Linked DNA regions of Homo sapiens: region 2 is linked to region 1. Evidence: promoter capture Hi-C in human tissues and cell types (Jung and others, 2019). All regions are on one chromosome and are shown on one strand. The core of a region is centred on a gene start or on the middle of the fragment in contact, and the rest is flanking DNA. Distances in the headings are between cores, read along the strand shown. Region 1 holds the start of GPR4 (G protein-coupled receptor 4). Region 2 overlaps OPA3 (outer mitochondrial membrane lipid metabolism regulator OPA3).

What was found. Contacts are between HindIII fragments. The study calls those that stand out against the background at their distance.
Region 2: a fragment that was not itself captured here is called in contact with the fragment with the promoter of GPR4 in region 1 in 2 of the 25 tissues and cell types used here (mesenchymal stem cells and spleen).

What each region holds. Positions count from the first base shown.
Region 1 is chr19:45,599,047-45,606,085 of GRCh38, forward strand. GPR4 (G protein-coupled receptor 4) reads right to left here and starts at 3,166. Exons shown (of 2, transcript NM_005282.3): 1 at 3,049-3,166. The HindIII fragment of the contact is 53,447 bases long and covers 1-7,039 here.
Region 2 is chr19:45,555,563-45,562,601 of GRCh38, forward strand. All of the region lies in intron 1 of OPA3 (outer mitochondrial membrane lipid metabolism regulator OPA3), which reads right to left. Among named protein-coding and RNA genes, the nearest start is that of OPA3, 26 kb to the right of the region's middle. RefSeq lists enhancers at 2,467-2,967, 6,290-7,039. The HindIII fragment of the contact is 5,882 bases long and covers 1,776-7,039 here.

The sequences.
Region 1 (7,039 bases), core at 1,916-4,415:
GTAAACCCCCAAATCTCACATCCACAAGAAGCTCCCCCTGTCTGTCCCACAGGCCCCCACTTCTTGGGTCCCTGCTGGCCCCTTCCAGAGAGTCGGGGGGAAGAGAAATATACCCAAGGATGGAGAGATGGTGGGGGGACAGGAAAGACTAGGAAGACCTGGCCCCCCCAACTTTAGCAGCCTCGGCTGCCGCATCCTGCCAGCCACCCCAAAATCCAGCAAAGCTGAAAAACTTGGAGGATTTTGAGGACAAGAGGGAGAAGTGCTACAGCCCCCCGCATCCCCCAGCACCCCTGGGCTCACTCACCAGCCTTGTCCCCGATGCCACCAGGCTATCTCACCTCCCCCTTTTCCTCCTCTGTGGGCTCCTGCTCCCACCACCCCCCCCTCCCCGCCTTCTCCCTGCAGCCCCAAGGGACCAGCCAGCTCCGGTCTGCTCATTAGGGACGAAATGTGATCACTGGTCCTCGCTCCCCACCTGGTGCCCTGGCGGCCGGCGGAAACCAGGGGGCAATCGGGCTACCCTAACGGCCCCACTGCACCTCAGTATCCCTGTTTCAACCGAGAGGGTCTCTGTGCCCCCAAAGCCCACACTGCCTACTAGGGATACCAGTCCTTAGATGGCCTCTCTGACGTTCTAGGTCTCTATGGTTCTGCAGTCTTCAGGTTCTATCCTTAGTTCACTTCGCAGTTGAATGTTCTATTATAACATTCTAGAGCGTTACTCTTCTTTCATTCTATTTATTACATCGTGGCTTTGTAAGTACCTACCCTAAGTTTCCAATATTCTAGGAGTGTCACATTCCAAGATTCGAAAGTTCTATTGTTAGAACACGCTATGATTTTTTTAAGCATTCTATGACTTTCATAATCTATTATTAAACGCTCAGTGATTTTTATCTTTCCCCAGCAAACAGGAATATGTATTTCCCTTTTCTCTTTTACAGAAATGGGAACATACACTAAATACGGTGAGCCCCACTTCCTTTTCTTTCCCCCCTTCTCTCGCCTGCTTTTGAACATTCCAGCAGCCTGATTTCTAAGATTGTGCAGAATTCTAAGAAATTATGGCTTCATGGAGGGAAGAGAGGGGCGTGTTAGTCACCACCTCCACCTGGCCCCTAAATTCTCACCACCTGGGGGTGACATGCTATATCCAGGCCGCCTCTCTACCCTTTCGCTAGTGGGCCTAGCCTCAGCCCTCCCCGCTCACACCAGCTGAGTTATTATTTGTCTAGACACAAACCAAATTATAGGCCCTGTCCCCGAGGGAACGGTGGGCTCCAGGCGGAGGGTCAGGAGACTGAAGCTGGAGTTAATCCCGGTTCCCCTCCACCTCCCTCCCTCTCTTCCCGAAACTCCACCCCTTCCACCCAAACCAACTATTGCCCCTCTCCCTCCCCACCACCATGGTTTTGGAAATATTTTCTCTCCTCTGCTTCTAAAACCCTCCCTTCTGGATTCCAGCCATTTCTACTCACCCTGGCATCTCTCCCTCCTCATTGAGAAGACCTCTTTCCCCAAATTAATCCGACTTAGTGGTAGCAGAAGAAGCCAGCTCTGTGGATTTGGGCTTCAGTTGAAAACTGGGGTCCCAACCCTCCAGCCTGGCACTGACTCACTGTGGGGACTTCTGCTTTTGGACCTCAGTTTCTCCATCTATAAAATGGGGGCAGGGGGAGTTGGCCTAGGTGGCTCCGCAAACCCTTTCCAGCTCTCAGCTGCCATCACTGAAACGTGCCAAGATTTCAACACTCCTCTTTTTGGATTGAAGGACTCCAGTATCCCCAGGACCTTTGATTGGAAAGATCTGGAATTCCCAGGCCTCCCCTCCAATGCTTCTTCCATCTGGGCCCTTCCATTCAAAGATGTTCACATTCAAGGTACTTGATCATAGGATTCCCAGGGTTCCAGGAGCCCCTATGGGTCTTTCATCCTCTTCAGCTGGGATTCCCCCAGAAAAGAAAACCTCCTCATCCTCACCCCAAACCTGAAGTCAAGTTCATCTACAAAGACAGAGGTGGGGGCGGATACCCCCTTGGTGGGCTCAGGAGGAGGGGGGCTGATGGTGGGCTCTGGAGGGGGAACTGGGGGGTGTGGCCCCATCCTCTCCACTTCTGCGCCAAACAAATTCCCCAATGCATATCCAGCCTGAGTACGCACACACACACATCCCACAACCGATGCCTCACAGATATCCTAGAGCTATTCCTCAGCCTAGTTTGGGAGGAGGGGTTGTCCAGTTCCAGGGGGGAGAGTGAGGCGGAAGCAGGAAAGAGTTAATGGTGACCCAGCCAAATCCTGGAAGAGAGGAAGTAGGGGAGGAAGTCCACCCCCCAGGCAGGAATTCCTGAAATTGGCGGGCGGGCTGGGTGCGACCTGAGGGGCAGTGGGGTGGCTCCGTGAAGGGGGCGCTGGGATCATGGTGTCACTTAGAGTCCGCCTGCCCCAGGTCACAAGCCTCCTGCCCCCTACCCCACTCCCAAGCAGGTTCCCAGCCCAGAGGAAAGTTCCGGGATGCGGAGGATTTGGAAGGAGAGAAGACAGAGCTGAAGGTGCCAAAACAGTGTTATAAGAGACGGAGAGAAAGAGACAGGGCAATAGAGATGAAGAGACAGGAAGGGAGAGAGCAAAGAGATACACAGAGACAGGGAGAGATGGAGATAGAGTCAGAGACATCCGCAGAGGTCCCACAACAGACGGGGGTGAGGCAGAGGCAGGGGCAGAGGGAGGTGGGACCCAGAAACAGAGAGACAGAGACAGACAGACGGAGACAGAGAGGCAGAGATCAAGAAAAAGACAGAGACATCCAGAGACACAGAAGGAAAGACACGTCCAGAGGCAGAGGGACCACAGACACAGAGACATCAGGCGGGAGTTGGAGACAGACGCAAAGCCAGGGAGAGCAACAGAGGGGGCGGGCACCGAGACGGCGCGGGAGACTGAGGCAGCCCCCGAGGGGGCGGGGAGGAGCGGTCTCGCCACGAGCAGGGCAACCTAGTGAGACCCCGCAGCATCGCGGGCAGCCGGGGAGGACCCGGCACTTACCTGCGCGCGGCGACTGGACGGGGCGGGCGGCGGCACCTCTCTCCGCTGCGTCCAGGTCCCCGGTCTTGACAACGGCGCGGGGACCCAGCGGATGCCCCCGCGGGGCAGAACAGCGGCTACTCCTCCCGGCCCCCGGGCCAGAGCCGCCAGCCGAGGCCCCGCCCCGGCCAGGCCCGCCCCCATTAACCCCACCTTTGCCGCTGCCCCTTAACCCCTTTCAGGCTTCACCCCATTAAACGCCTCCAGCCACGGGTGAGGCTCATCTGCTACTGGAACACCCCCGAATCCTTCCAAGTCCCCAGCTGGAAGGTCCCCTCTCTCCAACCACACACCCCCAAATTTATCAGGTCCTCGGCTATGGGAAGAGGAGGCCCCCGCTACTGACCTTCCCTGGGTTAAGCCATTTCCTCCCTTAGAGACCCCAGGCTTCAGTCATTCATCCTCTGGTCATTAACCTTCTGCATCTTCCTCCCCAACAACGGAGAGAATAAAGGGTTCTGTTAGGTCCCCAACTCCAAAGTCAGGGCCACCCCTAGAAGGAGCTCTGGGGTTGCATTTCCAGCCTGACTCTTGGTCAGACCTTAGGCTAGTGACATCTCCGTGCCTCAGTTTCCTCTTTGAATCAAGGTGGTCACTCATGGTGCCTGCTTGCTTCCTTCTTTTCTTTGCTTTGCTTTGCTTTGCTTTTTTCTTTCTTTTCTTTCGAGACAGAGTCATGCTCTGTTGCCCAGACTGGAGTGCAGTGGCACAATCTTGGCTCACTGCAATCTCTGCCTTCCAGGTTCAAGCGATTCTCCTGCCTCAGCCTCCCGAGTAGCTGGGATTACAGGCACACACCACCACGCCCGGCTAATTTTTGTATTTTTAATAGAGACGGGGTTTCACCAAGTTGGCCAGGCTGGTCTCGAACTCCTAAGCTCCAGCTATCTGCCCACCTCGGCCTCCAAAAAGTGTTGGGATTACAGGCGTGAGCCACCGTGCCCCACCTTTTTTCTTTTTTTGAGACAGGTTTTCACTCTCTTGCCCAGTCTGGAGTTCAGTGGCACGATCATGGCTCCCTGCGGCCTCAACCTTCCAGGCTCAAGTGATCCTCCCACCTCAGCCTCCTGAGTTGCTGGGACTACAGGCGTGTGCCACCACACCTGGCCAATTTAAAAAATTTTTTTTTTCTATAGACAGGGGTCTCACTATGTTGTCTAGGCTGGTCTCAAACTCCTGGGCTCAAGCCATCCTTCTGCTTTGGCCTCCCAAAGTGCTGGGATTATAAGCCTGAGCCACCGAGGCCGGCCATCATGGTCCTTTTCTCCTGGCGGTCTCATTTAATGGTGTCAATGCTATCAAGTCTGTAAAATATGCCAACCAGACCCCAACACTCCCCATCTTTCTCTGCCTCACTTTTCCCCTACCCTTTGGGGAAGGCAACATTCTCTTATTTTTTTCTAGTTGTCTGCCTTCCTACTAGGAAGAGTGTCATTTTTGTGTCTGGCTTGTTTACTGTTGCATGTCTGTTGCCTAGAAGACTGCTGGGCAGGTGATAGGTGTGAAACACATTGTTTTCTGGCCGAGCGTGGTGGCTCACGCCTGTAATCCCAGCACTTTGGGAGGCTGAGGCAGGCGGATCACGAGGTCAGGAGATGGAGACCATCCTGGCTAACACAGTGAAACCCCATCTCTACTAAAAATACAAAAAAATTAGCCAGATGTGATGGTGGGCGCCTGTTGTCCCAGCTAATCAGGAGGCTGAGGCAGGAGAACGGCATGAACCCGGGAGGCGGAGCTTGCAGTGAGCCAAGACCGCGCCACTGCACTCCAGCCTGGGTGACAGAGCAAGACTCCATCTCAAAACAAAAAACAAAAAACATTGTTTTCAGGGAGTGAACAAATGAATGATAAGTGCTCCTAAAACATTAGCTTATTTTTATTATTAACATCACATCTTTCATAAACTAATCATGAGAATTCATTATTGGTCAAGGGACTTCAGATAGATGTGGCATATAACACTAAAAAATGATAGCTGTCAGGTTTGATTTTTTTTTTTTTTTTTGAGACAGAGTCTTGCTGTGCCCAGGCTGGAGTGCAGGGACATGATCTCAGCTCAATACAACCTCCTCCTGCCGGGTACAAGCAATTCTCCTGTCTCAGCCTCTGGTAGCTGGGTATACAGGCATGCACCACCACACCCAGCTAATTTTTTTGTTTTTAGTAGAGACAGGGTTTCACCATGTTGGCCAGGCTGGTCTCGAACTCCTGACCTCAGGTCATCTGCCTGCCACGGCCTCCCAAAGTGCTGGGATTACAGGCATGAGCCACGGCACCTGGCTTGTTTTTTGTTTTTTTGAGACAGAGTCTTGCTCTGTCCCCCAGGCTGGAGTGCCATTGTGCCATCTCAGTTAACTGCAACCTCCACCTCCCAGGTTCAAGTGATTATCCTGCCTCAGCCTCCCGAGTAGCTGGGACTACAGGTGAACACCACCACACCCGGCTACTTTTTGTGTTTTTAGTAGAGACAGGTTTTCACCATGTTGGCCAGGCTGGTCTCGAACTCCTGACCTCAGGTGATCAGCCTGCCTAGGTCTCCCAAAGTGCTGGGATTATAGGCATCAGCCATCGCGCCCAGCTCTTTTGTGTTTATTTTTAAATTAAATTAAAATGTAGGCCAGGCATGGTGGTTCATGCCTGTAATCCCATCACTTTAGGAGGCCAAGGCAGGTTGATCAATTGAAGCCAGGAGTTTGAGATCAACCTGGGCAACATAGCAAGACTCTGTCTCTACAAAAAAAAAATTTCTTTTAACTAGCCAGCTGGGTGGTGCGTGCCTGTGGTCCCAGCTACTGCGCAGGCCAAGGTGGGAGGATCACCTGAACCCAGGAGGCGGAGGTTGCAGTGCGCCAAGATCGCACCACTGCACTACAGCCTGGGAAACAGAGGGGGAAGAAAGGGCACCTAAGCTCTGTGGCTCATGCCTGTAATCCCAGCACTTTGGGAGGCTGAGGCGGGAGGATCACTCGAGCCCAGGAGTTTGAGACCAGCCTGGACAAAAAAGTGAGACCCCCATCTCTACAAAAAAAAATAAAAAATAAAAATTAGCCGTGATTAAAAAATAAATGTAATTAAAAATTACATTTAATTAACAATTAGTCTCAAAAAATTTGATTAAAATGTTCAGATCTTAAGGGAAGAATATAAGGAATCCTGAAAATTGGATACACCATGTAATTAAACACCCAAATCAAGACTCAGGATATCGGCCAGGTGCGGTGTCTCACACCTGTAATCCCAGCACTTTGGGAGGCTGAGGTGGGCAGATCACTTGAGGTGAGGAGTTCAAGACCAGACTGGCCAACATGGCGAAATCCCGTCTCTACTAAAAATACAAAAATTAGTTGGGTGTGATGGTGGATGTCTGTAATCCCAGCTACTCGGAAGGCTGAGGCAGGATAATTGCTTGAACCCAGGAGGTGGAGGTTGCAGTGAGCCGAGATTGCGCCATTGCACTCTAGCCTGGGCGACAGAGCAAGACTCCATCTCAAAAAATAAATAAATAGTGCAGGTGCACTGGATCATGCCTGTAATCCCAACACTTTGGGAGGCCAAGGCAGGCGGATCACCTGAGGTCAAGAGTTCAAGACTAGCCTGACCAACATGAAGAAACCCTGTCTCTACTAAAAATACAAAATTAGCCGGGCGTGGTGACACATGCCTGTAAACACAGCTACTCGGGAGGCTGAGGCAGAAGAATCACTTGAACCCAGGAGGTGGAGGTTGCAGTGACCCAAGATCGTGCCATTGCACTCTAGTCTGGGCAACAAGAGCGAAACTCTGTCTCAAAAATAAATAAATTAATTAATTAATAAAACAAACAAAAACATAGCTATTCTTATAATCTTGTGTGGCTTTGGACAGGTGACTTTACCTCTGTGAACCACATTACCCCCTTCCTCTCAGGGATTTTTCTTTTAAGAGATGGGGTCTCACTCTTTTGTCCAGG
Region 2 (7,039 bases), core at 3,467-5,966, 42 kb before region 1:
TCACTGCAAGCTCCGCCACCCGGGTTCACACCATTGTCCTGCCTCAGCCTCCTGAGTAGCTGGGACTACAGGCGCCCGCTACCACGCCCAGCTAATTTTTTTATATTTTTAGTAGAGATGGGGTTTCACCGTGTTAGCCAGGATGGTCTCGATCTCCTGACCTCGTGATCCACCCACCTCGGCCTCCCAAAGTGTTGGGATTACAGGCGTGAGCCACCGTGCCTAGTCATTTTTGTATTTTTTTTAAAATAGAGATGGGGTTTATCAGTATGTTGCCTAGGCTGGTCTTGAACTCCTGGGCTCAAGTGATCTGGCTGCCTCGGCCTCCCAAAGTGCTGGGATTGCAATCGTGAGCCACTATGCCTGGCCTATATATATATATCTTTAAACCAGACATTGGTAGGCATCAAATCATTATTGTATGCGAACTGCAATAAATATGAAGGGAAGGATGCACCAGCTGTTTGAACATGTCAGTATCATAACACACCAGAACCAGAAATTCCATCCTTCACAACTACTTAAGGTTAATGAAGAAAAGTTTTACTTGTCAACTTGAAAATGCACTAGAGGGCACACAATTTATTTTTTCTTTTTCTGAGACAGGATCTCGTTCTGTTGCCCAGGCTGGAGTGCTGTGGAACAATCTCAGCTCACTGCAACCTCTGCCTCCCAGGCTCGAGTCATCTTCCCACCTCAGCCTCCTGAGTAGCTAGGACAACAGGTGCATGCCACCATGCCTGGCTAATTTTATTTTTTTTGGGTAGAGATGGGGTCTTGCCATATTCCATCTTATTTATTTATTTATTTAACAGATGGGCTCTCACTCTGTGGTCCAGGATGGAAGGCAGCGGCTCCATCACAGTTCACTGCAACCTCGAACACCTAGACTCAAGCAATTCTCCTGCCTCAGCCTCTGGAGCCGCTAGAACTATAGATGCCCCACCATGCCTGGCTGTTTTTAAATTGTTTTTTGGTAGAGACTGGGTCTTGCTATGTTGCCAAAGCAGGTCTTGAACTCCTGGGCTCAAGCAATCATCCTGCCTCAGCCTCCCAAAGTACTGGGACGACAGGAGACAGCCACTGAGCCCAGCCACTACACATTTTTCATCTTCAAAGGGGTGGGGTGGCAGGAAGGCTTGGGGAGCTCTGCTGGAGCTGGAGGGAAGACCTGAGGTGCAAGCTTAGGGCCCGAGAAGTCACTGTCACTGTCACTGTCAGCTGCTGCAGTTACTGTTACAGCTGTGACTTAGGCCCTGGGCTTGTGGGTTCCTGGGGTCCAGGCTGTGGAGACCCCTCCCACACTGAGGTCTTAGGGTCAGGCTGATCTGGGGTCCCCCCGGGGCTCCGCCACCTGCTGCCTGAGCAATGACAGCCTGCCCCAAGGCCCCTCTGTAACACAGGAAGGACAGCATCATCCTGACAATGACACTCGCCAGACCTGGTGGTGGCCCAGAGCTGGGCCCGTAACTGTCACTGCCTCCTTCATGTCAGGGACACCTAGCACAGTGGCCAGAGAGTGGTGAGGGGTGAGGGTTCCAGATCCTCTAGCCTTCCTGGGTGAGGTTCCCAGCGTGGAAATGCAAGTGTCTCAGTGCAGACCAAGCATGGGGATCTGGGCCAGCAGGTGGGTCTAGGTGTGCCAATGGGAGTGGGCACATACCCAGGCCACAGGAAATCAAATCAAGAGGGTGTGTGTGTGTGTGCACGCGTGTGTGCACGCAGGCATGGGCTTTCAGGGCTTTCAGAGCAGGGGCCGACGGCATTCTCCCTCGGGCCAGCGGTCAGATGTGGGGTTCAGGAAACAAGGCCCAGGTGGGGATGAATCACAGGGCTGTGATTCTAGAAGGGACAGCTGTGAGGGGCCGGGACAGGCTAAGCTGGAGGACTCACCAGACTTGCGGGGGTCAACACGCTCCAGATGTCTCCTAGACCTCTCACACTCAGCACATCCAAACCTGAACCCAGCACCTGGCCCCACACCTGTCCCCTGGCTAGAGACGGGGGCCTCAGCCCAGCTGTTCCCCTTCTCCCACAGCCTCTCAGCTGCGTGTCGGGTCCATTCTGCATCTTGAACATCTCTCCCAGTGGATTCCCTTCTGCTGTCCTGGTCCAGGATCCATCCCAGCTCTGACCAACGTTCTCCTCCCTGACCTCCTGAATAGGAGGAATACAGCCTGTCTATCCCCTTCTGAGTGCCTATCACAACCAGGAATAGTGGCTATCCAGTTACCTGTCTGCAATCAGTCTCCCCACTGTCCTGTAAGCCTCACAAGGGTGGGGCCCAGGGCTGTCACAGTCACTGCTGTGTCCCCAGCACTGCCCAGTGCCAGGCCAGGCACACGCATGATGCTCATTAGATCTAAGCTTAACACATAAGTGAGTCCCGCCTCCAGCCTCCTTCCCACCTGCCGGCCCCAGCCTCACCCCTCTGCAATTGTCCCCCACGCAGCAATCAGAAGGAATTGGTGAGAAGAAAAGAACAAACTGGCTGGGCGCGGTAGCTCAGGCCTTTAATCCCAGCGCTTTGGGAGGCTGAGACAGGCAGATCATGAGGTAAGGAGTTCAAGACCAGCCTGGCCAACATGGTGAAACCCATCTCCAGTAAAAATACAAAAAATTAGCGGGGCGTGGTGGGAGGCCCCTGTAATCCCACCTACTCGGGAGGCTGAGACAGGAGAATCGCTTGAACCCAGGAGGTGGAGGTTGCCGTGAGCCAAGACCACGCCACTGCACTCCAGCCTGGGCAACAAGAGCAAGACTGTCTCAAAAAAAGAAAAGAAAAGAACAAACCTACCATTCCCCGTCGCCCCACCCCCAACTCCTGCCGCAAATAAAAGTAACACATGGCAAGAAAACAAAGTACTCAAACTATAAAATGTAAAGCCAAAGTCCCCTCCTCAGAGGAACCCTCAACTACTGCGGTCGCCAGCCTGTTTTCCCCTAGCGCCATCTCCTGGACAGCCCATAGTAAGCATACCTCACTCATTTCTGAGCTCTTCAACTGGAGGTTTGTTCAGATCTACGCCATCGTTACCTACTCATAATCCAGCCCCACTATGAAAGGTGAGCACTCTGCCCCCATGCGGCCTGCCCTTTCTCCGCTCCCCCATTTCTACAGGGGATTTGTATGCAGTTTTTATTATTCTATGTTCTGCTGTTTTTTTTTTTTATTTTTTTTAGACGGAGTCTCGCTTTGTCCCCAAGGCTGGAGTGCAGTGGCATGATCTCCGCTCTGCAATGCAGTGGCCATGGAAACACTCTCCAGTGTGGTGTGACTAAGGCAGAGAGGAGACCCTCTGAGTGCTGCTTCATGAGACTTTGGTGCTTTTTTTTTTGATACAGAGTCTTGCTCTTGTTGCCCAGGCTGGAGTGCAGTGGCTTGATCTTGGCTCACTGCAACCTCTGCCTCCCGGGTTCGAGTGATTCTCCTGCCTGAGCCTCCCAAGTAGCTGGGATTACAGGCGCCCACCACCATGTCCGACTAATTTTTGTATTTTTAGTAGAGACGGGATTTCACCATGTTGGCCAGGCTGGTCTCAAACTCCTGACCTCAAGTGATCCATTCACCTTGGCCTCCCAAAGTACTGGGACTACAGGTGTGAGCCACCGTGTCTGGCCTAACTCCAACTTCATGAGAGATCTTAACCTATAATTTTCCTTTTCTGTAATGACTTTATCAGGCTTTGATATCAGTATTCTATTGGACTCATAAAATGAGTAAGTCAGTATTCCTACTTTCTCTATTACTTAAAAGAATATGGACAATGGTCTTTCTTTCTTTCTTTTCTTTTCTTTCTTTCTCTTCTCTCTCTTCTTTCCCTCTTTTTCTTTCTTTTTTTTTTTTTTTTTTTTTTGAGATGGAGTCTCGCCATGCTGTCCCAGGTGGACTGTAGTGGCACAATCTCGGCTCACTGCAACCTCCGCTTCCCGGGTTCAAGTGATTCTCTCACCTCAGCCTCCCATGTAGCTGGGACTACAGGCACATACCACCACACCTGGCTAATTTTTGTATATTTTGGTAGAGACAGGGTTTCACCATGTTGACCAGGCTGGTCTCGAACTCCTGACCTCACGTGATCCACCCGCCTCAGCCTCCCAAAGTGCTGGGATTACAGGTGTGAGCCACCGCACCTGGCCCCCTCCATTTCTCTCTTCCTGTCTTTTCCCAATTCTTCTTTTAGATCTCAGCTGGACTGTCCCTTCCTCCAGGAAGCCCTCCCTGAACCATAGGCTGGGTCAGACACATTCTCAAGGTTCTCAAAGCTCCCTGGGCTTAACACGAGGCCGGCCTTAATAAATGGCAGCAAGACCTTTGGAGTCGCACAGACCTGGACTCAAATCCTGGTTCTGTCACTTTCTGGATTCGCAAGCTGAGCCTTGGTGTTTCCTTATCAAAACTGGGGGTCAAAATACTCAACTGACAGGATTGGGAGAATGGCAATGACAGAGTAAGGGAGAAAATGCTCAGTTTGTAAATGTTAACCTAATATCCTCTTCCTGACTTCTGTCAGGAATTTTATTCCTGGAAGTACATCCTACCCACTGGTGTGAATCTACTCTTGGGTTACATAGAATCGTTTTCCGTCTCCTCCCTGAACTCTCTCCCTCCAGACTCACTCCCTTTCATCTGTCTTCCATACCGGAGAATCCCAACTCAGATGTCCCCTCCTCCAGGAAGCCTTCCCTGACCTCCAGACCCCTGGGATCCTCTATCTGAGCTCTGACTGCTCTGGGTCCTCACTGCATGGTGACAAGTCTGTCTCTCCAACTGGACTGTGAGGCCGATGCAGGCAGGACCTGAGGCTAACTCGGTCACTGCACTGTCCCCAGCCCCAGATAGGCACAGAGCAGGCACTTAATGAAAAAGCTGATCTGTGGAGGTGCCCAGGAGGTGACCATGGACAATGGGTATGGCTCCTGTCTCTGGCTCCCCCATCTCCCTTCTCTCTCTCCTGATGCTTTTGGTGTTATCTGTCCCCTCGAGAATGTGGCACTGTGCATTGCCCCTCCTCCTGGATTTCCTGGATTGGCTCCAGGCCCCCTCTACACATCTGTCTCTGATATAGACCCTTTCCTCGGCCTCAGTGGCTGTCATTTCTCAGGGCACCATTTCCTAAGCCCTTTTCTCACTCGACTGTCACATCTACTTCCAGGGGCCACTCAGAACTTCAGGACCCAAACTCCTATGCTCAGATCTCTCTCAGCCCCGGAGCTCCAGGCCACAGGCACTTCAGACACTCTAGGTCACAACACAGTGGCTGACCAAGCCCAGAGAGATTTCCCCGGGAAAGGAGGGATATCTTAACCCACTGAGGCAAGTAAAGTGACGTACTTGGCCACAGTTAACTATTGTTCAAGATTTTTCTGAGCATGAAACTGCAGGTGGCTGGAATGCAACCCTTTCCTCAGGAAATGTGCTGCTAAGACCAAACAGCTCCCTCCGTGGTGGGGGACCGGGGCTCGGGAGCTTATGCACAAATAGGACAGGCCGGGCGCGGTGGCTCACGCCTGTAATCCCAGCACTTTGGGAGGCCGAGGTGGGTGGATCACCTGAGGTCGGGAGTTCAAGACCAGCCTGACCAACATGGAGAAACCCTGTCTCTACTAAAAATACAAAATTAGCCAGGCATGGTGGCGCATGCCTGTAATCCCAGCTACTCGGGAGGCTGGGGCAGGAGAATCGCTTGAACCTGGGAGGTGGAGGTTACGGTGAGCCGAGATCATGCCATTGCACTCCAGCCTGGGCAACAAGAGCAAAACTCCATCTCAAAAAAGAAAGAAAGAAAAAAAGGACAAAGCACCTCTTCCCCACTATTGGGAACACGCCTGCATACGATGGCTGCTTCCTTGTAAAATGAAGGGAAGGTATTCCTCATAGGGTCCACTACTCGATGGTGAAGGGTCGTCATAAGGACACAGTAGTGACTGCTAGAGCCCACGATGGCAAGACGGCCATGACGAACATGCTGGCTACTGAGAGGCTAAATCCCGTGGAACCGGTAACCGGAACTGTATACTAGGGAGGAGGGAGAGGTTATTTAATATGGGAGAGGGAAAGGAAAAACATCAAATCCTTATCTTTCATACAAGGAAGTTGGCTGATAATAAAAGATGGGGAAGATCCCAGCACTTTGGGAGGCCGAGGCGGGCAGATCACCTGAGGTCAGGAATTTGCAACCAGCCTGACCAATATGGTGAAACCCCGTCTCTACTAAAAATACAAAAATTAGCTGGGCGTGGTGGCAGGCATCTGTAATCCCAGCTACCCGGGAGGCTGAGGCAAGACAATCGCTTGAACCCGGGAGGCAGAGGCTGCAGTGAGCCGAGACCATGCCAGTCAGTGCACTCCAGCCTGGGCAACAGAGCGACACTCCGTCTCAAAAATAAATAAATAAATAATAAAATAAAATAAAAATAAAAAAATGAAAGATGGGGAAGAAATAATAAAAGATGAGAAAAAAATTTCCAAATGAGGAATGTTTAGAAATTCTCTTATTAGGGCCAGGCATTATGGCTCACGCCTATAATAATCCCAGCACTTAAGAGGCCGAGGCACTGGATCACTTGAAGTCAGGAGTTCAAGACCAGCCTGGCCAACATGGCAAAACCCCATCTCTACTAAAAATAAAAAATTAGCCGGGAGTGGTGATGCACACCTGTAATCCCAGTTACTTGGGAGGCTGAGGCAGGAGAATCGCTTGAATCCAGGAGGCAGAGGCTGCAGTGAGCTGAGATGGTGCTGCACTCCAGCTTGGGTGATACAGTGAGACTCCATCTCAAAAAAAAAAAAAAAAAAAAGAAAAGAAAAAGGAAAAAGAAATTCCCTTATTAAGAAACATGATAGGCCGGGGGCGGTGGCTCACACCTGAAATCCCAGCACTTTGGGAGGCCAAAGCAGGTGGATCATGAGGTCAGGAGTTCAAGACCAGTCTGGCCAACATGATGAAACCCTGTCTCTACTAAAAAAAAAAAGATTAGCTGGGTGTGATGGCGCACGCCTGTAATCTCAGCTACTCAGGAGGCTGAGGCAGGAGAA